7 separate regions of the Homo sapiens genome follow, and regions 1, 2, 3, 4, 6 and 7 are each linked to region 5. The links are contacts of gene promoters, found by promoter capture Hi-C in human tissues and cell types (Jung and others, 2019). All regions are on one chromosome and are shown on one strand. Each heading gives the region's core, a stretch centred on a gene start or on the middle of the fragment in contact. The rest is flanking DNA. Distances are from core to core; before and after follow the strand shown. Region 1 has its middle 160 kb from the start of KCNQ5. Region 2 overlaps KCNQ5 (potassium voltage-gated channel subfamily Q member 5). Region 3 has its middle 180 kb from the start of KCNQ5. Region 4 overlaps KCNQ5 (potassium voltage-gated channel subfamily Q member 5). Region 5 holds the start of KCNQ5 (potassium voltage-gated channel subfamily Q member 5). Region 6 has its middle 200 kb from the start of KCNQ5. Region 7 overlaps RIMS1 (regulating synaptic membrane exocytosis 1).

The links. Contacts are between HindIII fragments. The study calls those that stand out against the background at their distance.
Region 1: a fragment that was not itself captured here is called in contact with the fragment with the promoter of KCNQ5 in region 5 in 2 of the 25 tissues and cell types used here (adrenal gland and dorsolateral prefrontal cortex).
Region 2: a contact is called between a fragment that was not itself captured here and the fragment with the promoter of KCNQ5 in region 5, in 3 of the 25 tissues and cell types used here (bladder, heart right ventricle and lymphoblastoid cells).
Region 3: a contact is called between a fragment that was not itself captured here and the fragment with the promoter of KCNQ5 in region 5, in 2 of the 25 tissues and cell types used here (dorsolateral prefrontal cortex and mesenchymal stem cells).
Region 4: a contact is called between a fragment that was not itself captured here and the fragment with the promoter of KCNQ5 in region 5, in 1 of the 25 tissues and cell types used here (dorsolateral prefrontal cortex).
Region 6: a contact is called between a fragment that was not itself captured here and the fragment with the promoter of KCNQ5 in region 5, in 1 of the 25 tissues and cell types used here (dorsolateral prefrontal cortex).
Region 7: a contact is called between a fragment that was not itself captured here and the fragment with the promoter of KCNQ5 in region 5, in 2 of the 25 tissues and cell types used here (lymphoblastoid cells and mesenchymal stem cells).

Annotation. Positions count from the first base shown.
Region 1 is chr6:72,460,722-72,464,639 of GRCh38, reverse strand. No RefSeq gene overlaps it. Among named protein-coding and RNA genes, the nearest start is that of KCNQ5, 160 kb to the left of the region's middle. The HindIII fragment of the contact is 3,583 bases long and covers 640-3,918 here.
Region 2 is chr6:72,805,096-72,808,973 of GRCh38, reverse strand. The region is part of intron 1 of KCNQ5 (potassium voltage-gated channel subfamily Q member 5); the gene reads right to left. Among named protein-coding and RNA genes, the nearest start is that of MIR4282, 160 kb to the left of the region's middle. The HindIII fragment of the contact is 6,866 bases long and covers 1-3,878 here.
Region 3 is chr6:72,440,081-72,444,295 of GRCh38, reverse strand. No RefSeq gene overlaps it. Among named protein-coding and RNA genes, the nearest start is that of KCNQ5, 180 kb to the left of the region's middle. The HindIII fragment of the contact is 3,628 bases long and covers 526-4,153 here.
Region 4 is chr6:72,777,020-72,781,037 of GRCh38, reverse strand. The region is part of intron 1 of KCNQ5 (potassium voltage-gated channel subfamily Q member 5); the gene reads right to left. Among named protein-coding and RNA genes, the nearest start is that of KCNQ5-IT1, 150 kb to the right of the region's middle. The HindIII fragment of the contact is 7,591 bases long and covers 1-4,018 here.
Region 5 is chr6:72,620,009-72,624,111 of GRCh38, reverse strand. It overlaps KCNQ5 (potassium voltage-gated channel subfamily Q member 5), which reads right to left and starts at 2,048. Exons shown (of 14, transcript NM_019842.4): 1 at 1,525-2,048. The coding sequence starts at 1,922. It overlaps KCNQ5-DT (KCNQ5 divergent transcript), which reads left to right and starts at 1,433. Exons shown (of 3, transcript NR_186827.1): 1 at 1,433-1,580. RefSeq lists silencers at 714-763, 1,794-2,053 and enhancers at 412-1,363, 3,474-3,663. The HindIII fragment of the contact is 7,455 bases long and covers 1-3,849 here.
Region 6 is chr6:72,418,680-72,422,512 of GRCh38, reverse strand. No RefSeq gene overlaps it. Among named protein-coding and RNA genes, the nearest start is that of KCNQ5, 200 kb to the left of the region's middle. The HindIII fragment of the contact is 3,074 bases long and covers 1-2,831 here.
Region 7 is chr6:72,375,451-72,379,300 of GRCh38, reverse strand. The region is part of intron 29 of RIMS1 (regulating synaptic membrane exocytosis 1); the gene reads right to left. Among named protein-coding and RNA genes, the nearest start is that of KCNQ5, 240 kb to the left of the region's middle. The HindIII fragment of the contact is 9,411 bases long and covers 1-3,850 here.

The sequences.
Region 1 (3,918 bases), core at 1,182-3,681, 160 kb after region 5:
CAGAGTGACTGAAACAAATAATTAAATATTACTAATGAATGACATTAGGGACGTATGTTAACCACTGCTTTGCCACCTCTGCCCAGGCAGAGGTGTTTTGGTTTAGAGGCCTTAGTGGTTGTTTTGGAGATTTGAGTTTCATGTTTATTTATAAAACCACAGGGGTAGTGCTGTGCTGTGAATGTCCAATACACTAGCAGCCAGTTTCCCAAGTGAGTTCCATGCTTCTAACAGAATCCAGATGTTTTCAATTCTTCATGTTACCAGAGATTCAGGTTTGATCAATAAAGAAGTTACCAATAAGCCTATTGAGAACACATTGTCCGAACAGTATTATTGTTTTCATGGTAAAACTTCTGAGGCTTGATGGACTATTCTAGGATAAAAGGGAGAGGAAAAATAATAAGTGTAATTTGGATACACTCAACTCCAAGCAGAAGCATAATTATTTTATCTTATTTGTGATGAGGAGCATGTGATGGGAATTGATTTCATGGTTTTCCATGGGGTTCAAAATAGAAAAATAAACATATGCACATTCATTAGAATAATTATCTGGTGGTACTGTTAATGATCTTTATTTAGCACATGGAAATAGAATTTTAGACCTGCAAATATAAGTCAGAATTCTAGAACATAAGAGCTTAAAGAGAACTTTGGGATAATTTAACCACACTGAAGTCCAGGGAAGTCAACTGACACTTAGGTTCACATAGCTAGCAGAGAAACAGCCCAGACTTGTTGAAGGATATGTTTAGAGCCCATTGTACACAGATTATGAATTAGCAAGTCTTTTTCTCCTCTTCATTTTCATTGATTGTATCTGATGTAAAGGGAATGATCAGGAAGCATTAAGACAAAATGAGTAAAGTGAAAAGCTGTGCATGTTGCTTAGTCTATTTGTGGCACTTATGTACGGTTTGGTGTGAAAAGAGGTTGAAACTGGTATCTAAATTGAAATCTTTCTCTATCCACTGCAAATAATAAGTAGTTGATTATGTAACCACTGTGGAAGATTGTATTTTCCAAAGTTGGGAGTAGCAATATCTCTCATCCCATGGTTTACGATGTGACCTTACCACTCCCCTCATCCAGAGGTAGAGTCTATTTTCCTACCTCCTCTACTCCTCACCCTCGACCGCTGTCCCTGCCCTGCCTACACTTGGGTGGTCCTTTGTGACTCCTGGGTAAAAATGATGTATAACTTTGGAGGCTAGGGTCACACAGGGCGATACTGATTTCACCTCTATTTTGGGATGCTTGCCTTTGGGATCCAGTCACTATGCTGCAAGGGAAGCCCAGGACACCTAGAGATGCCACTGACAGGTGTTCTAGCTGGAAACTCCAGCTGAGGTGCCATCAAACAGCTGTGTGTGTGAAAAATCATGTAAAATAACTCTAGCAGCCACTATCATCTGAGTGCAGCTGCTCCTGTGACCCTGGACAAGAATTGCCTAGACAAGCCCCATTTCCCTGCCAAACAATGAGAAATAATAACACATGACTGAGGTTATTTTAATTATTAAGGTTTTGAGTTGGTTTGTTAGAAAGCAATAGATAAGGAGAATACTACTCCTATAAACAGGAAAGAAGAAAGGTAGGTAAAAGCAAGTTATTATTATTCTTTAAAAGACAAAAATTAATTTGGAATCAATCAGACTCACATTCTACAGTACAAAGCAAATTGATTTCAAAGAAAATGTGAACTATTATCAAAGCTCATAAGGCTCTAGCAAAACCCATAGATAAGAGAACATATAATGGAGTGGGGGCGGGGGGTCAACAAGATTTTCTAAGCTTGAAATGGGAAATTATGTAAACTCAACATTATTGTACATACATATTTCTATTTGCTTAAAAAAATAGGCAAGATGACCTTACGCATCTTTTCCACCTCTAACTTCCACCATTCTATCTTCATCATGTGGGTGTTCAGTTTGCTGAAAAAGCCAGATTTCAGAACAGCTTTCTTTCAGAAATGATGTTTTTAAAGTTAAGGAAAAAAAGCTTGCCACACTGTAGAAGTGGCAGCTATAAAAATAGACATGAAAATAAATTGAAAATTCATAACAATTGTGCTGAAAAAGACGCACTGGGAATTGAATTACAAAGTAAAATGAATAAAGTGGGCTTTTGATTAAATGAGTGCACCAAAGTATTTACAGTATGATAATATGTTGGAAACAGCTAGAGATACTGCAGAATAAATGAAGAAAACACTATGAGTATAGTGCTAGGAAAGCACCATCTCAAAGCATAAGGCAAGGGTCAGAGAGCTGGGTTAATTCTATGCTTTAACAGAAAGAACACTCAAAATTATGCCTAGAAAATGCAGAAAAAATGGGAACACAATATGTCAAAAAAGTTTTGTACTAATAGGAGGATACTAAGGTAGAAAACCAAGGGATTTGGACCAGGTTGTGTAAGATAAAAGTACATTCCTTTCCTCTGCATGCATCCTACCCCCGCTGTCCTCAGACACATATCAACACCATACGTTTTTAAAGAGCAAAAGTGACTCCATGTTCCTCACTTACATCTGCACAGATGGCGACAATTATTCATCAGTTTCCTAACAATTTCTCTTCACTTTCTAAGTAAAGGTTGGAGACCTTAGTTGGACTGCAGTTCTAATAAGATTTAGGATTTCATTGATGTTCCTCTACTAGTAACTATTTTTGGCTAGCTTAGCATCTACTCAGTGCGGCAAAGTATACAGAGGTCTAAAGCCTATAAGCAACTTCTACATCATTAAGGAGACAGAATTAAATTAACAAAGAATAATGAGTGCTGGAAAAGTCTACACCATGTTAATGGACAGAATGCACTGGATAGGAAATTTGAAATTTGGGTGAGAAATGACAGACTGAGAGAGGAAGTCATTCTTGACAAGTGCCATGCTTTATACCTGGTACGTAGTAGGTGCTTTAGAAATATTTATTGAAAAATTAAGCAAGTAAGGCAAAACATGTGAAAAGGGGACTTAAAACTGTGTTAGGGAGTAGTCCAGCCTGGCTAGAGAAGTGAAGGCAAGGTTTAATGTCAAGGAAAAACCAGATAAAGGAGGCCTGGAAGGAAGGTGATGCGTTCATTTTCTATGGTAGAAAAATGGAAATCAATAAAACTGCCTGGTACTCAAGAGAGATTACTCTGACAGCAGAATATGATATGGATCAGAAAGAGAAACTAAGTGAGGTAGCATCAATTTCAGTTCTTTTCTGCCTTGGCAGGCTTGTTGCAAATGTTTGCACTTTGTGCTTAGCTGAGGAAAACAACCTCAAAGCAAGATGTGTGTTGTGGAGGGGAGAGTGAGGCTGCTGCAAGAATGTTAGGATGCACAGCTGGAACTGGCTTTGTGGTTACTCAATGTGGCTGGGGAATGCTGACGTGTAGGCAATTCATTTTGAACTAAGACTTCTAGAAAAATCTCATGAGAAGGCATATGAAATATAGCCTTAGAACTCAAAGGATGAACTACACTGGAGCTACTGCAGCACAGTTACAAGGAGTATACCCTCTTTACATCATGATGAGTACCAAGAACCAGGCTTTCTTGTCAGAAAAGAAAGGCAACCATATACCTATATTTACCTTAGACATGAGGAACACACCTTACTTAAAAAAATAAACAAGAAAAACCTTTGGTAGGATAATTCCTACATTAAATTTTTTGCATCTTGGTTGATTCATTAAATGTCTGTTATGGGGGATAAGAATCTATATATGTCATTTCACTGGAAATGCAGCAATGTATATTTGTAAGGATTTGAGATAGACTGCTTGGGTTTGAATCTACCACTTACTAGTCCCATGACTTTAGGCAAGCTATTTAACCTCTCTGTTCCTCCATTTCCTTATCTGAAAATGAGGTAATTCTAGAAGCTTCCATATAGGGTTATTAGGAGGATTAAATGTTAT
Region 2 (3,878 bases), core at 1,364-3,863, 180 kb before region 5:
TGCTATTGTGAATAATGCTGCAATAAACATACGTGTGCATGTGTCTTTATAGCAGCATGATTTATAATCCTTTGGGTATATACCCAGTAATGGGATGGCTGGGTCAAGTGGTATTTCTAGTTCTAGATCCCTGAGGAATCACCACACTGACTTCCACAATGGTTGAACTAGTTTTTTTTTTGTATTTTTAGTAGAGACTGGGTTTCACTATGTTGGTCAGACTGGTCTCGAACCCCTGACCTCAGGCAATCCTCCCATCTTGGCCTCCCAAGTGCTAGGATTATAGGCATGAGCCACCGCGCCCGGCAGTGGTGTCACTTTTATAGTTATTCTTCATTCACCACCTGGCTTGGGAAAGGCTCCTTGAAAGTGCTGGGGCACTAGACACACAAATAAAAAGTAAAAAGGGCCTTTCTATTTATTTTAAATAGATACAGTGGATTATCAGGATGAGTAACATAAGACATAGGAGAAAATTAATAGCTAATAAAAACATGATGGGTTTTGACAATGGGTACCCTTGTACAGTGCTCTGTGCACCCTCTTGCACAGAACAACTCCTTGTATTCCGGTTTGGTTGATGTAGACACTTTAACTAAATATTCCAGACCATACAAAAATAAATCAACTTAGTCTCTGTTTCTTCATATTGCATCTCTCCATTTTTGCCATTCCCAAAGTGAATACTCCTTTTATGTATCCTCTCTTAAGTGTGCGTTTGATTGTTTGCAAAATATTCAAAATCGTAACAACTTCTTCTTTCTTAGATATTCCTAAGTATCACTCAAATCAGTCCGCTTCTCTCCATTTCCTTTGCCACTAGCCCAGATAAGGCCGCCATTGACTCTCTCCTTCAATTTCTGTCCCCATCCTGCCCCTAGTGAACTCCCCATGCTGCTGCCAGTGAAACACATTTGATCACATCTGTCTCCTCCTAACTCTTCTTTGGCAAGTGAATACTGTCAGGATGAAGTCCAAGTTATTTAACACTACCTACTTTCTTCTCACTTCCCTTTCTATAACATAGCCATACTGGACTTCCAGTTACCCCAAAACCATGTACTTTTGCTCTGTAGGGATTTGCGCTTGCAGCTTCCTCTGCCTGGAACACTTTTCCACATCCTGTGTCAACCTCTTGCACAGAGCAATTGATTATTATTTATTCTTTGGGTCTAGGCCAGGTGTGGAGGCGCACACTTTAGGAGGCCTAGGTGGGAGGATTGCTTGAGGTCAGGAGTTTAAGATCAGCCTGGGCAACATATTGAGACCCTGTCTCTACAAAATATTTTTAAAAAAAATTAGCCAGGGATAGTAGTGCATGCCTTTAGTCCTAGTTACTTAGGAGGCTGAGGCAAAGGATCCCTTGAGTTCAGGGGTTTGAGGCTGCAGTGAGCTGTGATTGGATCACCACACTCCAGCCTGGGTGATGGAGCAAAACTCTGTCACTAAAACAAATAATAATGATAATAATCATCAGGACAGGAGAGATCCTGATACTAAGTAGAGAAATAATTTCTAAACAGTAAAAGATGCTGTTGATTTTAGATGATAATTAAATGTATCATTTATAATTTAATAGAATTTAACCCTCTTGAAAGTAAAGATAATTATTGCATAAATCAATCAATTACTTTTGAAATAACTATTATATTGTTATTTTCATAATAAATACTAAGTAAACATGGTGAGGTTAAAAATAAAAATTTATTGAGTATTTACAATTAACTAAGCCCTATGGTATGACTATTATACAGATTAGCAAGATGTAGCTAATAATTGAACCCAGACATGATGCTATCAAAATTCACTGTTTCAATATTATTCTCTTGAATGATTAAATAAGTCAACTAAATTGTAGGGCTTCCTGACATCAAAATAAACAAATGCATAAACACATAAATGCATAAATAAATAAATAAATGGAAGAAAACACCTTACCACAGAGATTAAAAATTCTCATTGACAAATGTCCATGAGAAATGCAACATATACATAATAAATAGTAACAGAGACAAAGGCTGCTTATAAAACTGAATGTTTATTGTTTATAGAAAGAAGTTTTTCAAACTGTAAAGCTGTTTGTCGATCTTATTCTCATATGGGAGAAAAACGAAACTGAAAATTAATAAATAAAATTTGAAAGGAAGGCTTAATGAGCTTCAGTCCAGTGGTTTACCATGCAAGGAGCAAAAACGGGTTTGGCTTGAGGAAGTAGGAATGGGAACTCAGTACTGCAGTTACAAGCCAAATCAAAATATGGGAAATGCAGAAGACACATTTAATTCCTTAATAATAGGAATATTGGGCCAACATCTTGGAGTCTTGCAATTTTCAGATAATATTTTATTTCTCAGCAGGTCATATCAAGAGAACCTCTTGAGGTTGTGTAAGTATTATGATTCTCTGCTTATTGCCTTACTTCGTCTGTTGCTATTTTTTGTCTCTTCAGGTTTGATCCTTAAGGCTTTTGTTGAACTGACCCTAAGCACTTTATGTTATCTTTTTGAAGAAATATGTCTTCTAGATTTCCCATCTTTTGATTTGGCCTATAACTTCAGTACTGGGTTCCCATTCCTACTTCCTCAAGCCAATCCCATTTTTGCATTACTTAGATGGGACTGACCCCCTCATTGGGTAGAGCTTTTGTCACTTTTTGGATTTTTGCTTGTCTTATTTCTTGTGCCAAATGGCTTTAAAAATATTGTCTGGAATGATGCCTCTATTGTCTTCTATGATTATATATATCGTTAAGAAATTAATGCTGTATGGTGAGGATCCCAATCCACCCCAGGTAAAAGAGAAAACATTCTCACAAGCTTCAGTTTCTATCTAAGCACACAGGACTTGTTTAGCATCATGAAAGACCATCAAAGAAAGAGATAAAGTCAAAATCCAAGACATTTCTGGGCTCCACTTTCTTCAGGTCTCTGTCACCAGTTGCCTCTCAGCAGATTTCGGGCACCATGAAGTAAAGTACACTATGAAGCACTTTTATATGCCAACAGCAAACAATCTGAAAAAGAAATCATGGAAGTGATCCCATTTACAACAGCTACAAATAAAATAAAACACCTAGGAATTAACCAAAGAATTGAAAGAGTTCTACGATGAAAATTATAAAACACTGATAAAGGAAATTGAAGAGGAAACAATAAAACAGAAAGATATTCCATGTCCATAGGTGGGGAATCAATACTGTTAAAATATTCATGCTACTTAAAGCAGTCTACAGATTCAGTGCAATCCCTATCAAAATACTAATTACATTCTTCACAGAAATAGAAAGAACAATTCTAAAATTTATATGGAATCACAAAAGACCCAGAATAGCTGAAGTTATTCTGGGCAAAAAGAACAAAACTGGAGGAATCACATTAGCTGGCTTCAAATTGTACCACAGAGGTATAGTAACCCAAACAGCATGGTAATGGCATAAAAACAGACACATAGATCAATGGAACAGAATAGAGAACCCAGAAACAAATCCATATATCTATATATCTACAGTGAACTCATTTTTCAATAGAAGTGCCAAGAAGATATGTTAGGGAAAGGATAGTCTCTTCAATAAATGGTGCTGGGAAGCTTCCATATGCAGAAGAATGAAAATAGACCCCTGTCTCCTGCTATATGTGAAAATCAAATCAGAATCCGTTAAACGCTTAAGTCTAAGACCCCAAACTATGAAACTACTACAAGAAAACATTGGAGAGACTCTCCAGGACATTGGAGTGGGCAAAGATTTCTTCAGTAATATCTTACAAGTACAGGCAATCAAAGCAAAAATGGACAAATGGGATCACATCAAGTTAAAAAGCTTCTGCACAGCAAGGGAAACAATCAACAAAGTGAAGAGACAACCCACAGAATGGGAGAAA
Region 3 (4,215 bases), core at 1,090-3,589, 180 kb after region 5:
GCGTGAGTGGTGGATTACAAATATACTTGAAAGGCCATCTATTGCAGGGATTTCTTGCAATAGTTGTACATAATATTGACTCATCACCTAGAATTGTTCTGCCTCTTATATATATTTTTTAATTTTTTAAATTATTTAAATTTTTTGTGGGTACATAGTAAGTGTATGTATTTATGGGGTATATGAGATGTTTTGATACAGGCATGCAATGTGAAATAAGCACATCATGAAGAATGGGGTATCTATTCCCTCAAGCATTTATCCTTTGAGTTATAAACAATCCAATTACATTCTTTAGATTATTTTAAAATATGTAATTACATTATTATTTACTATGATCACTCTATTGTGCTATCAAATAGTCTTATTCAATATTTCTATTTTTGTGCCCATTAACCATCCCCACCTTCCGCCAACCCCTCACTGGCGCTTATATGGTAATCTTCAGTATTTCATCCTATCACAGCCCGTCTCCCTAGCTTTTTTCACTTCCTAACTAACTACCACTACAAATATGCTCTTCAAATGTAATATATGCTCTTCATATATTATTTGACACTTCTCCTTCCTCCTTCTTCATTATTTTCTTCTACCACACTTCTTGTTCAAACCTACAAATTGTCACTTCCATGGTCTAAAAATTATACATGACAACAGCGAGTGGATTCAATCATCATCTTTCTTTGCTATACAACAGACTCTGAGCACTACCAGAAAATGTTCTTAAAGCAAATGGATTGTTCAGAGGATGAAGGTTTTAAAACTTTTATATTTTATGTTCGACAAGATGACGCTGTGCCTTACCCTTATTCATGATCTTTTCTCAAGCCAAAAACTTTTAGCCTCTTCTTGAATCTCTGACTCTAGGAAACCACCACTTTGTTACAGGGTGATCTCTCTTAAACATAAACCCACTCGTATCCTTTCTTCGGCTTAAAATAACTAAGAACTCATTTCTACACTAATTCACCAAGTCAAAAGTCCTCAGCATTTTGTACAAGGCCCTTCATGGAGTGTCTCCTACTTACCTCCTGACATGATACATCTCCATATGCACCTCCTATTTCAGCCAAACAAGTCACTGAGAGATCTCAGGAAGCACTAGTCTCTCTCACCGTACTCTGTCTTTGCACTTCACATTTCATCGTTTTTGAATGTCATCTCTTCCATCCTGTGTGTGATGGGCTCCTCCTCACCCCCTCTATACGGTCCACGTGTAACCTACTCCGAGAAGCCTTGCTGCCTCCCTTCCACTCCCAGACCACACTTACCCTATTAGAGTTAAGTTATTTCTCTTTTCTTCCACCTAGAGCTTCCTTTATTTATTTCTCTACTCCCTCTCTAGTCCCCATCCTACAACTATGCACCCTAGAGTGGAGAATTTACATCTCAAAACCTGAAAAATAACAATTATCCCAATAATACTCAGCAAATGTTTATAGAATGAATGGACAGATGGGCTTATAATATGAAGAACAGGACATTCAGTTTAGTTAATTGGGGGCGTTGGAGACAAGTCGGGGTGCCTATTACTCAGTATGTAATATTCTGCTCTCTGGTTTGGTAATTTCACTAAAATCAATAACCTAAACTCAACAACAAAAAGTCGTAGCCTGCTTCAAAGAGAGGAACAACCTTTCCTCAAGTTTGCTATTTCAACAATAATTTAAGAAAATCATCTTTTTACTACCTGTAGGTGTCACATGGGACTAACATTGTGGTCTGTACCTTTTGCCTTCCTTCATTCCCAGTAAGGAAATAAAGGAGATATGCTGACATTTTGATAGAGTGGAAATCAATACCTATATTTCCAGCATTACCTACGGAGACAGAGAGTTTTCCAGGCTGGCAGGCTTTACTGCAACCTCTGAAGGTGTTAACATGTTAAGAGAAAGACTATGTGGACCAGAGGAAGCAGAACCTTACAGAAGCAAAGGGAAAAAGGCAGATACAAAGGAGATCGCAGGTCTGTGTTTCACAAGCACCTGGGATGTTTGTTTGAAATGTTGATGACTGGCCCCACCTCCATCCTAGTAAATCAGAATCTCTGGGAATAGAGTCCACAAATTTGAATTTTAGCAAGCTTCTTGGATCTTTTTTCAGCCCATTAACTTGTGGAAATATTAATTCAGATGTGACTTTCCCCAGAGCTGCAGGGGGAAGGGCCTCACTGTGGAGATGAGCATGTCAGACTGAGTAAACCCTGATGCCCTTTAAACTATCAGATCACAAGTCTTACTTTCCATGTTTTGATTTCATATTTACAGCATACTCTCTGACAATTTAGTTTCCATGCAGCTCAACCTACTGGAGGAAATTGTGCAGGTAAAGCTCATATGGATTTTGATCCTTTTTACGATCCTTTTTATGACGTTTTCATTGCAAATTTACCAATTATCAATGGTTGTTCCATTTAATAATGTCTCATTAGCTTTTTTCCTGTGAATTGAAACTCCAAGTCTGATCAATTAGCTAATAATTCTTGAGCTATATTGAGCTTGTGAACATGCAGGGTTGGAGATGGACCTTGGATTACCACTGTGTGTGTCTTTCTTATGGAGCATTCCTGGCCTCCTGCTGACATCTTTTCTACCCCACTTCCAACTGTCTCATCTTCCTCAAATGCTTATAATGAATTTGTAGTGGCTTTATCTGAAGAAATCAATACTCATAAAACATCTACCCATGTTGTACTATTTTATAGAGTCGGGTTAAAAAATGATGCTCCTTAATAAATTCAAAGACAGAATCTACCTTCTATCTTTCCTGTAGGGGTAAGGCCCAGCTCTGAAAGAATAATGTTTAACTAGTGGTGATTTTGCCTGGTGATTTTAACCAGGAGACATTTGACAATGTCTGGTGATACTTTTGGTCCTCACAACAGCAAGATGCTATTGGCATCTAGTGGAAGAGGCCAGGGATGCTGCTGAACATCTTAAAATGCACAAGACATCTCCCTACAAAAAAATTATTGGAATTATTGGGTACAGTGGTAGAAGAGACTCCTCTGTACCTTCTGCTCGAATTTTATACTTCTCTAAAAAGTGAAATCTATTAAAAATTATCTAGCCCCAAATGTCAATAGTACCAAGGTTGAGAAACCCTGTCCTGAAGGAAGCCATGAGAGTTCTTTACTAATTCTGAACCTACTTTCAATTTTTATGACAATGCTAGCTATTGTAAAGGAGAACAATTTTGTATACATATGCTTCCAAAGTGAGTTCAAATGTACATTTCTTTTTTTTCAAATCAGAAGATGATGCTATACTTTAGTAACATATGCTGCACAACATCACCCTCAAGATGAAGCCATTTAGCTATACCACAAATATGAGCCATGCTGAGGTGAGAATGAAATTCACTTTTAAATGAACATACTTATGCCAACAGAGGTAAACTAAATTAGAAGTATGCGATGAGAAATTTGGTCTCAGAATTTGGCTATGAGGGATGACCTACTTTGTGGGGGGTGGGGGGGCTCATTTTTGATTTCCAGAATCTGTGTGTTTCCCTCATTGCATGAGTCTTCCATACCCACACATCTTGTGGGCCATATGGTGCTCTTTTGGAATGACTTTCATTTGATTTTCTCCTTTTCAGAGATTTTTTTTTTTTAAATTTTCACTCTGTCAGAAAGCACAGAGGTCCTTGAGGAAGGGTCTTTTGTCAAAATGCTCTTCTTAGTAGTAGTGACCTTTGATGATTCCACTAGGATTCTTAGCAGAATAATATATCTTCTGAAAAAAAAAGCAAAAAACAAACAGACAAAAAAACCAGAAGTATAGCCTACTGGTGAAGCTTAGAGAAGCATTTTATATAACTTGTTTGGAGGAAGGAAGGAACCCACTCTTCATTTGGGGTTAGGACTTCATTAGTTTCCTCATGGGGAAAATTCACAGATTTCTTTTAGGCAGGGGTTGTGTGATGGGGAAAATGGGCAAGCACAGAGGTGAGTTAGGGGTTAAGGATGGGAGAATACAAACGTCACTTACTGGGGAGTTACTCACTGCAAACCTCAGGGCCATGGAAGAAAGGCACTTGACAAAATCACGTGTGACCTGAGATGTTCAGCAGTGAGGAAGATGAGAGAAAATGGCTCACTACTTCTTACAAGGACCAACCCAAATACGGGGGGACTTCAAAAAATACATGGAAAAATGGAATTAAAAGACAAAAATTGCCAACTTTATTTTTCAACATAAGCCCCATCAAGTT
Region 4 (4,018 bases), core at 724-3,223, 160 kb before region 5:
TTGGGTAGGGACACTATTTGAATGATTATTAGTGTCAGAAGATTTATGTTTAGATATAAACAAGAAAACTATGAAAAATAAGAAAACAGTGGAAAGAACACTGGCCTCAGAGCTAGAAACCTGGGGCTCATTCTTTCTTTTCTATGATTAAATTGCTGAATCTAAGAAAATCACTTACATAGTGCCTGATCCAGAGTAAGTGACAGCTTATAATTATTATAATTATTGATCTCCCTATTCTATATTCCACCCTGCCTGTTACCAACATGATCATGTTTGCAAAACTCAAATCTAATATCATTATTTAAAACCTTACATGTTATCCAGTTGATTACCAGATAAAGTTCTCAGTAGATAAAATACCCCTTATTATCTGATCTCATATCTCCCCCCAAGTCTTCCACTCCTCACCCAACAGTCACTCTATGTCCCAGATGCATTGAGCAAAACTGGGTTGCCTTCTCACACCTCCTTGTCCTTGCTCATACAGTCCCCAAGTCTGGGATGCTCCAGACTCCTTGTCCACCTGGTGAATATAAACTCAGACCTAGTCAGTGCTCAGATGCCAGCCCCCTGAGGCTTCCCTGAAGCTTTCATCAGAATGATGGGCTCCTGTTCTCTGCTCTTGGAGCATATCAATACCTCACATTTGCTTGTGATTATTTATTGGCATATCTTCTCTTGTGCATTAGGAGTTTTCTCAGGCTAAGCAAAATGTCTTATCAATTCTTAAAGCTCCAACTCCTTGGGAGGAAGTATAACATATGGAAAATAACATATGGCTTGGAGTCGGACAGGCCTCTGTTCTGCCTTTTTACCAGCTGTGCAAACTTGGAGAAGTTACTTAACCTGTAAATTGGGGTAATAAATGTACCTACCTACTGTGGTTTGTGGTAATGTTTGCAATGCATAATGCCAAGAACATAGTAAAGAATACTTAATAAATGCCTTTAACTAAATAGTGGTAGTTGAGTACAACTGAAAAATTATGCAAGACTATAGATTGTTGCTGATCCCAATTAAGAATCTCCCACTCATGGCTCAGCATGGTGGCTCATGCCTGTAATCCCAGCACTTTGGGATGCCCAGCTGGGAGGACAGCTTGAAACTAGGAGTTTGAGACCAGCCTGGGCAATAGAGGGAGACCCCATCTTTACACACACACACACACACACACACACACACACACACACACACACACACACACACACACACAGAAAATTAAATTAGCTGGGCATGGTGACTCGTGCCTGTGGTCCCAGCTACTAGGGAAGCTGAGGTGGTAGTATCCCTTGAGCCTGGGAGGTCCAAGCTGTAGTGAGCCATTCTTGTGCCACTGCACTCCAGCCTGGGTAACAGAATCACACCTCGTCTGAAAACAAAAAACAAAATGCCAAAAGAACCCTCCCGCTTAGTTTAATCTTCTTATTTTTTTCCTCGGTAATTCCTTTGCCTACTCTCCTCAGTCTTCATCCAAATACTCACTGCTCTCCTAGAACTCCACCTAACCTTATTCTCAGCAGATTACCTTACCTCTTACTAGGAAAAAAAAATGAATAAGTAAATAAATAACAGTCAAGTATGAACTCTTTCAACTCCCTTCTGTCCCACCACTCTCTCTGAGAGACATACACACATTCTCACAAACTTGTCTACATATTCATTTATGATGGCTTGCTTCCTTCCTTTCTGGGCCTGAAAAAGAAATATCCCTATCATCCTTTGACTGTTGAATGCCAGCCCCCATTCTGTGTGCCTATGACCCTGGCCTGGGCCTCTCCTTCTTCCTCCAGGACTCTGCCTCATAATGCCCTCTCTTGTCAACACCAGCTTTCTAGGGGGGCATCCTTCCCTGTAGCCTACAAATATACTAAGCATCTCATCCCAAATCAAACAGACAAGATCAAGAGTCTCCCACGGCTCTGCTCCTAAACTTTTTCTTGCCTTTCTCCTTCCAATTTCATCCACACTTTCAAAGAACAGTGTGGAAAAGCAGTCTCAACTTCTTCACTCACATACTCCTCAATCCACCTTACTGCAACTAAAGACAAGCACTACAGTGAAATCACTTCACTAAAGTTACCTTTGTCCTCTTCATTACCAAATTTAATGAATATCTTTACAAAAGCTATTTATAGTGGCACCTCTTCTATATTCAATACAATTGATCACTTTGTTTTGAAAACTATTTGAACTTCTGTGCTCTGGGATACAACTCTCTTCTAGTTTCTCTGATACATTTCTGACTGTGCTGTTGATTTTTTTAAAATTTTTTTCTCCAGTTTTATTGAGGTTGAATTGACAAATATAAATTGTATTTATTTACACTGCACAACATGATGTTTTCGTATACATACACATTGTGAAATTATTACCACAATCAAGCTAATTAACATATCTATCATCTCACATAGTTACCTTTTTTTTTGTGGTGGGAATATTTAAAATCTATTCTTTTAGCAGTTTTCAAGTATACAGTATATTCTTTTTTTTTTTTCTGTGACAGGGTCTTGCTGTGTCTCCCAGGCTGGAGTGCAGTGGCGTGATCTCTGCTCATTGCAGTCCCCTCCTCTGGGGGTCAAGCGACCCCCACCACCTCAGCTTCCCGAGTAGCTGGAACCACAGGTAAGTGCCACCATGCCCGGCTAATTTTTATATTTTTTGGTAGAGATGGGGTTTTGTCAGGTTACCCAGGCAGGTCTCAAACTCCTGAGCTCAAGTGATCTGCCTGTCTCCACTTCCCAAAGTACTGGGATTAGAGGCGTGAGCCACTGCGCCTGGCCTGTATACAGTACATGCTTATGTTACTGTAGTCATCATATTATGCAATAGATTTCTAAAACCTATAAATTCTTCATTGAATTTTCTACTAGAGAGCTGTACTTCAAGTGCTGGTGACCCTGTGACCTTCATCTTTGGCCTGACATTCTTCCCACTTTTCCACTTATGCTAGAGACTCTCCTTGAAAAATGGCATCCACGTTCATGTTTTTCTCTTACCGTGACCTTTGACTTTCAAATTGCATGCCTTCCTTGAGTTTCAGAGTTGATTATCCTACTGCCAACTGATTTTCTCTAACTGAATATTCTACAGGCATTTGAAGTTTAGCTTTTTTAACGGTGAACTGATTATATTTTCTCTTGATCCTCTTCATACATTCTCTTTTATAGGCAGCACAATCACCCACAGTCAAGGCCTAATGGAGGGTGTGTCGGGGCAGAGATTCAAGATGATGGCCTCTATGGGGTATACCTGAAATTTAGGGCAGGCTCTGTAGCCTAGGAGTAAAGACAAAAGCCTTGGAAGCAAATTATCTTGGCTCTTCAAAGAATCACCTCTGTGGTTCCTCTTGATTATATGTGTGTAGGGCAAGAAGGTACCTTTTGACCTAGGATAAGACCAAAAGGATATGAGTTTTGTTGTTGTTGTTTAAATGCTTATCGAAAACTGTTTCACTTGCTGATATTCAGAGCTGCTTCCTAGGGTGGAGGTGGAAAAATGTGTAAACGTAGCTCGGGGCTAATGTGTGCTTCTTGTGATTTGAAGTTCCAAAGATCTGTGGTATAGACTAGGAGTCTAGCTCAAGACTCCTCGGCCAACACCTTCAACCACCCACTCCACTTACCCCACCCCCATCCAACTAATCGCAAATCATTTTTCTTAAATATTTATTGACTCCACCTCCCCTGCTGCATATTTATCACCACTTTTCTAAACCAACTGTTTACCATCCGTCCTTTGAGTGCTATAGTAACCTCTTTGATAGGGTTCCCAGTAATGTCTTGTCCTTCTCGAATCTAACTTCCACTAAGCCATCTGAGTGGCCAAACTAAAATTCAAAACCTTGCAATAACTTTCTATTTCTTACATGATAAAGACTTAGCTCATTAAATGGCACAAAATCCTCTCCAGGATCTAGCATTGTTGGTTTCATCCATCTCAGCTCCCTGCTTACACTATTCTGCAGTTCCTGGAAGCTGGATGGAGCTCTTCACAACACATTATTTCCCTTTCCCTC
Region 5 (4,103 bases), core at 799-3,298:
GCAACACAACCGTTCTCCTTGTGTGCATTGTAAAACGGAAAGTTGGCTGGAATATTCTGCCTAATGCTACATGTTCACGTCAATCTGGGACTGTAAAATTTTCCAGACACCAGAGCCCCACAGATTGTAGACTCCACCAATTTCCTGACTCCTATGTGGTTGAATTCCAGGTTCACCTAGTTACAAAACCAGCCCTTCTTCCATGTTATTTCAAAACACGTTTCTGGTGTTGATGCTAATTCTGCATCCCAGGAGAGAGCTATGTATGGATGACATAACTTATTTCTAAAAGAAACCTAGTCCGTGTGCTCAAAACTTATTTTACTAGGAAACAAGGAATGTATCAGCGAGTATCTGCAACTTTCTCTACTGGTCTTCTAAGGTTGATGTCTTTATATTTCATCTTAACAAAAAAGAAGCAGAAATAATAATACTAAAAAAAGAGGAAGCAAAAGGAGAAGAGGAAGAAAAAAAGAATTAGACACGAGGTAACATTATAAAAACAACCTTAAAATGCCCAGATAAACGTAACTCTAATAGGAGACTGAATGAATGGACTTTGTGGGAAAAACAGTAGTAAACTTTAAAGCCACTGAAAGGTTTTAAATGCCTAAGGGAAAAATAAACATTTGCTTCCAATCATTTTCTCATTAAGCATTCTCTGCTAGATGGAGAAGGCTTACTACACACACACACACACACACACACACACACACACACTCTTTGACTCCGCGCCACAAACGGGGACTTAACCCACTGCCCGATCTCTGTCAGAGGCGACCCATTTGCGCTTCTGCTATCGCACCTCCGCCCGCGTTCCTGCGCCCCAGGTTCCCCGCTGCCTCCCCGCCCCCTGCAGCGCGGGAGCGTTGCTTCGCCTGGCCTGCTGGCCTCCTCTAGACCTTGGCCACCTTCTCCGTGGCAGGAAGGGCTACATGCACTGACAGATTTTCCGTTGGTGGTGGCTGGGTGGTGGCGAGGCGTGTTTCCGGGCGCGCTTAAAACCTAGCAGCTCTCTCCAAGTAGCAGCTTCCCCTACTCCGCCCCTAGGACTGAGGACCTAGCCCTCGATGCCCCCTCACTTCTCCCCGTCCTACCCCGCCATCACCTCCTAACCTCTCCAGTATACTCTCAAGCCTCACACGGGCGCCTGTCCTCCCTTTGCATTCCCTAGCTCCCGGGCGCCCCGTTCGGTTGAAGTTTACGTATCTTGGGACCTAATTGCTCCCAATTATCCGCGCAGCCTAAGTCCCGCGTCTGCCTGGCTCTCGCCCCGGGAGCCTGAAGCTACCGGGCAGTTCATTGGGTGTCCTCGGGGAAAAGGTTCAAGCTGTAGAGATGAGAGAAGTGGGGCTGGGGGAGGGGAGAGGCTCCAGAAGGAAGACCACGAACACGTGCGAAGAAATAAAAGCCACCACGTGTGCACGCGCGCGGGGGCCCAAGGGCGCGAGCGCGGAGCACGCCCCAGGGGGCCAGGGACAGTGGTCCCCTGCAGCGGGCATAGCAGGGGGCGCGGGTACTCACACGAAAGCGTGGTAGATGAACGCCCAGCCGCGGGGTCTCTCCAGCACGTTGTACAGGTAGTTCTGCACCCGCCGGTACTTGACGTTGCGCCGGCAGCTCTGGCTACTCGTGTAAGAGAGCGGCTTCCCCAGCAGGCTCATCCGGGCCCCCTGCTTGCCCCGGCGGCTCTCCCTCAGGCCACCGCCGCCGCCACCGAGCGTGGCCGCGCGGGTGCCCAGCAGTAGCAGGCCGTCGCCCCTGGCGGCTGCCGAGTTCAGCAGCACCCTGCCCCGGCCGGACTCCACATCCTTCATGCCGCTGCCCAAGCGCCCCCCGCCCGCCGCCGCCGCCGCTGCGCCGCTCTTCACCCAGAGCCCGGCGGCGCCGCCCTCCTCTCCTCCCGCGTGGTGGCGGGGCATGGCATCACCACGGGCACCGCGAGGGGGCCGCCAGCGCCTGCGGCGGGGGCAGCGGCCTCATGTGCGCCGGCGGGTTTCAAGGAGGAAGCCGGCGGCCGACGGGGCGCCCGCCAGCCAGAGACCTCTGAGCCGGGGGCGGGGAAGCAGGCAGCCAGCAAACCGCCCGGGCTTCGGGGCGGGAAAGGAGGGGCTGCAGAGGAGGCCGAGGAGTCCCAATTTCTAACAGCCTTTAGCTTCGAATTCTAAATCCGGACCTGTTTGGGGCGTCACTTTGAGAGGGTTTCTCTTGCTCCCTCATTCCCGCGACTACCACTCCCTCCTTCCCAAACTGCCCCCGGGGATAGAGTGGGGGAGTGCGGGGCGCTCCGAGGCGCGCTCCCACGCGCGCACACCCAGCCCCAGGCTTCCCCTTCCCTCTCTCCACTCCCCACGCCCTGCAGCGAAACGGCCCCAGAAGCCCCTCTCCGAGGCGCGAGTTCGGTTTGGTTCTGGCAGGGGCTTTGCAGCTGTCCGGAAGGTGAAGTCAGCCTTGTGTCCTGAGGAGAAACTGGAGATGCAGGTCGCTGTGCCCTCCCGCTGCTACGTCGCTGCGCCGGATCCTGCCATCCTTCCGCAAGGGGTGAGAGCGGGAACAGCCCTGCCCTGCCTTCCAGGTATTATCTAGCCTGGAGGCTGGAGCGCAAGGTAACGCTCCGGGAAGTGGCACTCGGGTCCCCGCACACGGGCGAGTCCTCAGCAGTTCAGTGGACAGACCCGCAGGACGCGGCTGCCAAGTCCGCGAGGCAAGGACCAGGCATCTTCCCGCGCCTCACTCCAGCCTGCGGACTGTGACTTTCCATCCCAGTATCAGACAAGCTCGCGAGTAACTGAACATCCTTTCCAGTCCATGGGTGGGGTGTGGAAAGGGCGTAAAACTCCAAAGTGGCTCCTCCGCGGTGAGCGAGCTGCCCCGGGGCTCTGCCTGACTGCAGCGCGAAGCCTGGGAGAACAAACCCAGTTCCCTCCGTCAAGAAATTTCCATTTAAGTCCGAGAAAGTCATATGATTGAGAAGTTCAGCAGCGGCGGCGAGGACCCAGTGTCTGGGAAAGAACACCTGGAGGATGGGGTGTCCAGGACGCCGGCTTTTCGGGGTTCCGACCCCACCCACCTTATGTTGTAACATACAAGCTTAGAGACCTGTTGCAAGGAACAACTGACTGGGTCTTCCACCACCCCTGGCACCCGGGTGGCCCAAAGCCTATGCGCCCTTGGCGGAGAGAGAGGCCACGGTGCCACTGGCCGCAGCCTCTGGCCTTCAGAAACAGTGTATTACAAAGAAAAGGCAGTTTAAATCTCACATTCAGCATAGGGAAAACTGAAGGGTGCCAGGCTCGGGGACTTCTTCCAACAGAGTGGCTCTTCCCCAAATATGAAAGAAAATCATCAAATTAAATTGAAGGCAAAACTAAGCTTCCACCACAAAGACATAGCAGATAGTTGCAAGGTGGATTCCTTCGGGCCTTTTCCTTTCCTAAGGCTAAAACAATGCTAAGACAAAAGTCTTCTTGCAGCTGTCTCCGCCCCTCCGAGATAAATACTTTCCCAATTCTCCCCCACCCTGTACACACACCCACGCCCGCGGCAGCTGATTTCTGTCTTCTGCAATAGCTCGATTTAAATGCTTTGCTTTTACTCTTTATTATCACTATTATTTGTGTGAAGCCCTCTCGCCTGCTCCTGGTCACCAGCAGGAGCCTGCTTCCCTCCCTCCTTCCCCCCAAGCCTCTGGGCAGCAGAAGCTAGCTGGGAGCTCTGTGCAGCTGGCGGCGACGCCATGTGACTGTGAGCCGAGCACCATCACCCAGAGTCACTCTCTAGCTTTCCCCTAATACACTTCACACCCACGCACTGTGGAGGTGCGAGAGAGGTTGCTCCGTGCGGTGCTATTCGAGGCAGATGCAGAGAGCGCCCTGGAGTAAGCTCTCCAATCCTAGAGCTGCGCGGGACCCTGACTGAAGGCGGAGGGGGCGGGAGGGGGTGCTGTTGCTATATTTAGACTCCCTATGGAGTTTCTGTGCAGGGACTTTCAGGGTGAAAGATCTAGAGACTTAAAATGACTCGTGTGCCCGCTTTAAACGTCAAAATCTTGGCCTTTCTGCAAGCAGTAAAATGAAAACCACTTCCTCTTAACTTAGCTGTTT
Region 6 (3,833 bases), core at 45-2,544, 200 kb after region 5:
GATCCTGGGAAAAGTGCCATGCCACTGCTGGCCTCAGTGTTCTGGCACAGCACTGTTCTGCTGGAAGAAACTGCTCTCTGCAGAAACTTTTATCTCTCTGCGCTTAGACTTCCAGAACACTCAGCCAGCCAGGAGAAGGTGTAGGCACAAGAAGCATGGATACCCTGAGGTGATGCCTGTGGGTAGAGGAGGTAATCCCTGAGCTATGTGAAACTCACCCAGGCTCCATCCCCTAACTATAATAAAAATCCAAAGTACTTGCTCTTCTCTTGACTCAAGCCATTCCAGAAGAGCTTGAATACCTGCCATATTCTCCCTAGAGTTTCATTATATGAGTAATATTCATACCCTCTGGGTGCATGTATAACACCATCAGTCCTGATACCCAAAATGATATTGAGTGGGGAATTGATCCTTCCCTAACAGGGCACCCACAGAACACTAAAAATAAGACTGTTTATGTCATCTAAAAGAGACCAGAAAACCTATGGAATTTGTACAATCACATGAGGGAGAATCCTAGGCTTTCTTATTGGCTTCCGGGTGAGGTAAAAGGGGAAGGAAGAAGCGTGGGGCCTGAAAGCTGCCAGTGATTAAACATCAAAATGAAGTCATCACATTTAGGTATTAAAATAGTCAAGTATACTTGTGCTCCAAATTTTTAATATGTAGAATATCAGGGTAGTGTGCTGGGTGATAAGGACATGGAAGTTCATTATACTATTCTATTTTCGTATGTTCGAAAATTTCTATAAGTTTTTAAAAACCCGAGTCCAGTCTTGCTATGATTTGGTTTGTCTCTGCCAAAGATCATGCTGAAATTTGATCTCCAATGTGGAAGTGTTGGGAGGTGGGGCCTAGTGGGAGGTATTTGGGTTATTGGGCAGATCTCTTATGAGTAGATTAATGGCCTCCTGTGGGGGCAAGTGAGTTCTTCCTCTTGCAGGAATGGATTATTTCCTGACAGCAGGTTGTTAAAAAGAGTCTGGCTTCCTCAGTTCCAATCTTTTCCTTCCTCCCACCATGTCATCTCTTTGCACATGCCAGCTCCCCTTCCACTTTCTGCCATGAGTTTAAGCAGCATGGGGCCCTCACCAGATGCAGCTGCCTGATCTTGAATTTTCCAGTTGTCAGAATCACGAGCTAAAGAAATCTCTTTTCTTGTAAACTCCCAAGTCTCAGGTATTCTGTTATAGCAACATAAAAAGGATGAAGATAAATCTAACATAAAAACTTCAATTTCTCATGCAAGTGAAGCTTCTCTCTTTTTGACAATATGAGCCTAATTCAAGCTCAAAACCTGTAGTAGAGATTGGACACATGATCAGATGATCAGTTTCTTTTCCATTTTCACAAATTTCTCAATTCCTCTTATCTCTGTGTTGTGTCTGAATGCTCCAGGGTTGTGTTGAAAGCTGGGAAGAGAAGGAAGGAAATGAGAAAGTTGTTATCTAGCAGTGGTTGCCCTCATGGTTGTGAGAGGTACCGAAATACTGAGTTTGGGGGCATTTACTTTTATGGTTTCATACTGACTTTCTGAATCCTTCCACTCGAGACTTGCTGCAGCCCTAATTCTTATGTGAAGTAATTCAATCTCTGATCGGCCATGTATAACCACCCCCTGCCCACCTTCATTTCCTCTAACTGGATACCTCTATTATCTTTCCACCAAAGATGCCTCACTCATGGAAGGAAGCCCTCTAGAGCAGAGCTATATCAATGTAATTCAAGACCAGTGATTTTGAATGCATCCATCAGCTCAAGGGATACCCACAATGGGAGTGATGCTTCCTCATACTGTGAGCACTCTTTATTTTCTCTGCCTTGAGGTAATCTGTGGTCTACCTCCATCCTTCCCACTTAACCAGGGGAGAGTCAGATTCTAGACCTTCTGTGGCCACACCCAGCAGTGACGTGATCAGTAAGAACTGGGAGGCCGTGGGGCCTTCAGGTTGCTGCAGCTTGCAAAAATCCCTAGGGAACGGGTAGTCAGTCTCCCCAGTCTTGGCAAGTGCCTGTTCACTTCAGAAGGGGCCCCTGAGGTGCTTTTCTTACTAAGCTTGTTGCAGGGGGCAATGTGGGGCAGCCCTCTTTTGTTACCTCAAAGGGTGATACTCCATACTCTGGAAATCTCACCAGAGAAAAATTTCAACTCTCAATCTTCCCGCAGCCAATTTCCTCTGTTTGTAAATACCCTAGATGAAGAGTGTTGGTTTAAAGGTGACCAAACTGTGTTTTGGCTTACCCCTCAGCAAGGTTTTCCTAGCTGCTCTGGCATCTCCTTTTAGACTGTGCAGATAATTAACACCCTTCCTTATCAGCTTTGGAGCCTCTGCCAAAATTCTAAAACAACAGGGAATTCACACTTAGCTCTTCTTGCATTTGGAATCATTTTAAGGCAATGTTACTCGTGACATTTCAGGAAAAAATGCAAATATATTACAAAGTGTTGTTGGTTGTTATGTAAAACCTCTTAGGAGGCAATAAAAATATATTTTGGGTGATAAACAACAAACATGATAGGTACCTAGCAATGATTGACATGGAATATTATGGGAAAAGGCTCATAATTTGCATCTAAAAATTACTAGACTCGTGATTTTAAAGACCAAGGGCCAAAGAAATGAATGGGAGTTGGGGAAAAGGTGACCTGTTACTACTCCACCTAAATTACCTAGAAAAATCTGTGTTTTGTTGAATCGTGATACAGAGCACACTGTTTTTCATACCAAATACAGAAATTGAGGCCAGAGATAAAATGATTAGAGGGGAAGATGCCAGTGCATAGCACTTAACAATGTCCAAACAGAAAATGCAGAACCAGGGAAAGGCCTGGAGTTGCTTAGTGACAAGAGATGAAACTGAGAAATGGACCCACTTGATGTCATTCTTATTTTAAAAGGCTTTTACATCAGTTTACATATAGCTCCTATCTTGTATTGATTAAGACAAATAGCATTTTATAAAATGGTTGTTTAGAAATTTCATTTTATAGGTGTGTATGTGTATGTGTGTGTGTGTGTGTGTGTGTGTATATATATATATATATATATATATATATATATATATATATATATTCTTAAGTTCTACCTTTCAGCCATGAGTCTAAAACCACTTGGCTGTAGGGTTGGCAGAGGTTCTTTTCAGTGCCATCTGGATGGGGATGTTCAGTTGACTCTGGAGATCACAGGATGAGGTGGAGCGTGTGCATTCCCTTCACCCTCCTGGTGATGTGTTAGAAGGTACTTGGCACAAAGGATGGATTTACATGGAAGTGAAAATATAAGATGAGAAATGAGAGACCCTTAAAGACCAGCTCTTCGCTTTCAGACTCTGCTCAACAGAGCGTGCAGGGGCTGCTCCAGGGACCCAGGCAGGGGAGCGCCTGCAGTGGGAGTGTTTTCACCCACTCAATCGCCGAAGTCAGTCCATGTATTTAAAAAAATCTCTTTTTCATGTTCATCTTCTTATTTGCAAATAATAATAATAATAATGATAGTAGTAATATTAGTAATCATGATGTTTAATACCCCAATATGGTTCAACTCTCCCACGTCCTAGGTGAGGAGAGCTGTTCTGGGTGGGTAAATGACTCGGCCAAGCTTGTGGCAGGGCCCAGATAGGGATCCAGGCCTCTTGACCACCCTCAGACCATGGGCAGTTCTGCGGACTCGGCTCCTCCCCAGGGATCCTGCTGCCCTGAACACCCGCCTTCCATTCCTCTTGCAATGCAGAGACCCACAAGAGCTGCACCCTCTGAGGCGAGCAGGCGGCTGTGTTAGTCATTCTTCCTTCATGCTGTCTTAATCCCTCTGAATGTCAGCAAAAGCCAG
Region 7 (3,850 bases), core at 617-3,116, 240 kb after region 5:
TTGATGAAGCTGGCGAAGCCTAGTCCTCTGACATAAAGGAGTCGCCATAACAGCCCAGACTGGGATGACCACTGGGACTATTATGTAAGAGTCTTGATTAAACACTATCTGTGTGTGCCTTGTTACAGCACCCTATCGTGTACCACAGAAGATAATATTCTAAATCAAACCCAGTGTGGATTTTTGAAATAATAAAATTAGTTTTAGGAATAATAAAGAATACTCTCAGTTCTGTAGCTTCAGATAGAACATTTTAGTCCTCTACAGTTTCATGTCTGGAAGAATAAGGCTCCTCTTCTAATAAGAGAGTTAATGGAAATTTTTCTTCCCCACAAAGTCTCAGAGAATATTGGGTTAGAGGGGAAGATTCTAGCAATAAACACCGTTTATTAAATACCCTCATGGCACCCCACAGGGTACAATAAACAGAGGTGTCCTTTTCTTTTTCTTTTCTTGTCTTTTGAGACGGCGTCTCACTCTGTCGCCCAGGCTGGAGTGAAGTGGCATGATCTCGGCTCACTGCAACCTCCATCCCCCAGGTTTAAGCGATTCTTCTGCCTCAGCCTCCTGAATAGCTGGGATTATAGGCACCTGCCACCACGCCTGGCTAATTACTATTATTATTATTATTTTAGTAGAGACAGAATTTTGCCATGTTGGCCAGGCTGGTCGTGAACTCCTGACCTCAGGTGATCCACCCGCCTTGGCCTCCCAAAGTGCTGGGATTACAGGCATAAGCCACTACACCTGCCCTGAGGTGTCCTTTTCTAATAGTTTAATATTCTGAAACAAACACACATGTATGAAGTTCTTAATTATTGTGTGGAAATGACTGTACTGCACAAGTTATAGATAGAAGAGAGGGTTTTAGGTCACAAAGAAAATTAAGAAAAAGTGTTTTCTATATTCTGTAAAATGGAATAGATTCTCTGTACTTCTTACCACATTCCACAAAATAAATTAGATGGATTTTCATCAAAATTGGGGTGGTTTGATTTAGAATAGAAGCTATGCAGTATTGTGAAATTCCTGTTGGGAGACCCAGCAGGGCAACTTAAAGAGATAGGCAGCAATTCTTGAGAAAACCTGAAACAGAAGTACAATTGATCTAGGAGAGATGTGGCATATGTAATTAGTTATCACTAAAGAAGCCCCCACACTGAAAATCAAAATCACAGCATCAGGTACTCTAAATGGTAGGGTGATAAGGGATAATTGGGCAGTTTCCTGTTGGGGGACTCAATGTACCTTGAAACAACAGCAGAGCAGGTATTTATTTATTCTTGAGTGCTTATGATTTTCCCAATTCACAATGGAGAGGCAGACAGCATGTGTAAGTATACTTTTGTAAGGATGGGTGAGGTAAACACTTAGAACAACTTACACGACCATTACTGAGAAGTCAACATTAATATCGTTCATATGAAGTAGTTAAATGTTACAAGGAAAGAATAAAATAAGTTTGATGATCTCCTAAAGGCAAAGTTTGTGTAAAGAGGAATTTTGATTCCTTTACATCTTTTAGTTGTATACATTGATCATATCAGGATTGGCCATGATTTCCTAAGAACAAGATGAATATATGTCTGTATATATAAAATAAAAATTCACAAAGATGGAATCAGTGAGTTAGTTAATCAATACAGGCAGTTTATAAGAATATATTATGTTCAAGACACTATGAAAAGATAGTATCAGTTTGGCCTTCAAACCTCTGCTTGGGGCCCTACTCTGTTCTTGCTTTCAAGGGTCTTGCTCTGCCCTCTTCTTATCTTACCTCTTCACATAGCATATAGCCTTCCCTGTCCCATAGACCAAGAGGGGGCCAAGAGGATGTGCCCACCCAGAGTCCATGCCCACTCAGAGCCCATGTTCCCTTCTGAACTAACCTTCAGATCCATGGAATCCTAGAATTTCCTGCCTCAATGGCCCTGCATCCAATCCCAGAGCTAGCCCAGATGTCTTTCTAGGGTTTACTCTCCTGAGGATGGATAGTATCAGCAGTGTGCACACCCTAAATTCCAAGTGGCAGTGGACACAGCTTGAACACGTGCGCAAGGACACTCAAGGTACAGGACGGAGCCAAGGTTTGGGAACAGAAGAAGGTGGGTGACAGGTTTCAGCAGGAGGTGGGGTAAGCCAAGCCCAAGCACAGAACTCTGGAGAGCCTGAGAATTCTAAATTGAAATGTGACCTCCTTGGTCATTAAAAAGATATTTTTGTCAAGGAAGGAGACTAAAAGACCTTTTATTTGGCATTTTGTTAGTTTGGTTTATAACTTTTAAATGGCATATATGAATGTGTACTTCCATTTATTGCTCAGGGCCTCCAGTAAGCCTAGAATCTCTCAAGCGTAAAACTGTCCCATGCTTCGTAAACAATGAATCCTTTATTTTGATCCATTTGAAGGAACTATCATTAGAACAAGTCTGTTGCATAATTTTGTTTGGAGTTTTGGTCAGACTCTGAAAAACCTGTGATAAATTTCTGTGATTAAAAACCCAGGGAAATCTTATATGAGTAGCAAAATCTGATTCTCTTTTTTTTTTTTTTTGAGACAGAGTCTCTCTCTGTCACCCAGGCTGGAGTGCAATGATGTGATTTTGGCTCACTGCAACCTCTGCCTCCTGGGCTCTAGTCATCCTTCCACCTTAGTCTCCCAAGGAGCTGGGACTACAGGCATGCAACACTACGCCCAGCTAATTTTTGTATGATTTTGTAGAGACAGGGTTTCATCATGTTGCCCAGGCTGGTCTTGAGCTCCCGATATCTGCCTGCCTCGGCCTCCCCCAGTGCTGGGATTACAGGAATGAGCCACGGAGCCCAGCCCTTCTTCTTTTTTATAGAGTTTTTTTCTCTCCTTAGTTCAGAAGACTTGGGGGCCTACAAGGAAAGGAGCAGATGTGGAAGAGTAACAGCTCTTACTGGAGACTCAATTCTCACATTAACACACCGGGGACTGGGAAAATCTATAGACCCAGACAAAATATTCCTCATGGAAGTGAGGCAGGATGACAGCAGGGTAGTCAGAGGTTTAGGGTAGCAAAACTTACACTTCACAGACTAAAACAAGGGTATGCTAGCACATATTGTAATGACTGGTTTACGATCCTCACATAATTGGGTGAATATTTCTCTATACATTTTTAATAGAATGTGAAAGCATTATTTACAAAGATTTGATTTAAGAAGAGATTAAAAGAAAATTGGGGTGCTAGGGTCAGTCCCTCCAAAACTTATTGGAAATCATATAGTCTTTTTTCTAACTTCAGAATTTTCATGAAAAAGTAAATTCAGATGTACCAGAAACCATCTCTTTTCTCTTGCATTTATAAAACCAAGAGGCAAGAATGTGGTCAGAGATATTTACCACTGCTAACTTAAAAATATTCCATTTCCATTTTATTAAAAGGGAAATTTGGAATTTTATTGGCAGATAATTCAGTAGGCAAAGATTACAAACATTTTCACCAGTAAGCTCCCAAGGAGCAAGCCAGCAAAAACTGCAGAGATCCCCTACAGGCCATATCTTAGTTACAAAGCAATCCAAATCCAATCCAGGTTTGGGTCCCTTGTGTACCCAAACCTTGCCCCACTCCCTCCAGAAGTACCTGCATACAACTCTAGGAGATTCTGTCATCATAGAAAAAGCAAATTCAACTGTGAAAAGCAATAACTACTCAAGGTAGCTGCACTCTCCCAAAATATTATCATCTAGAAATGTTTCACTCTGTTTAGTTATATCATAATTGGAGGCTTATTTGGATTTATGATAACTAACTACATGTGGCTGGTACAAGTTAGTTCATCAGTGTAATTTCTAACATCCAGCTGACATACCTATTCTAGA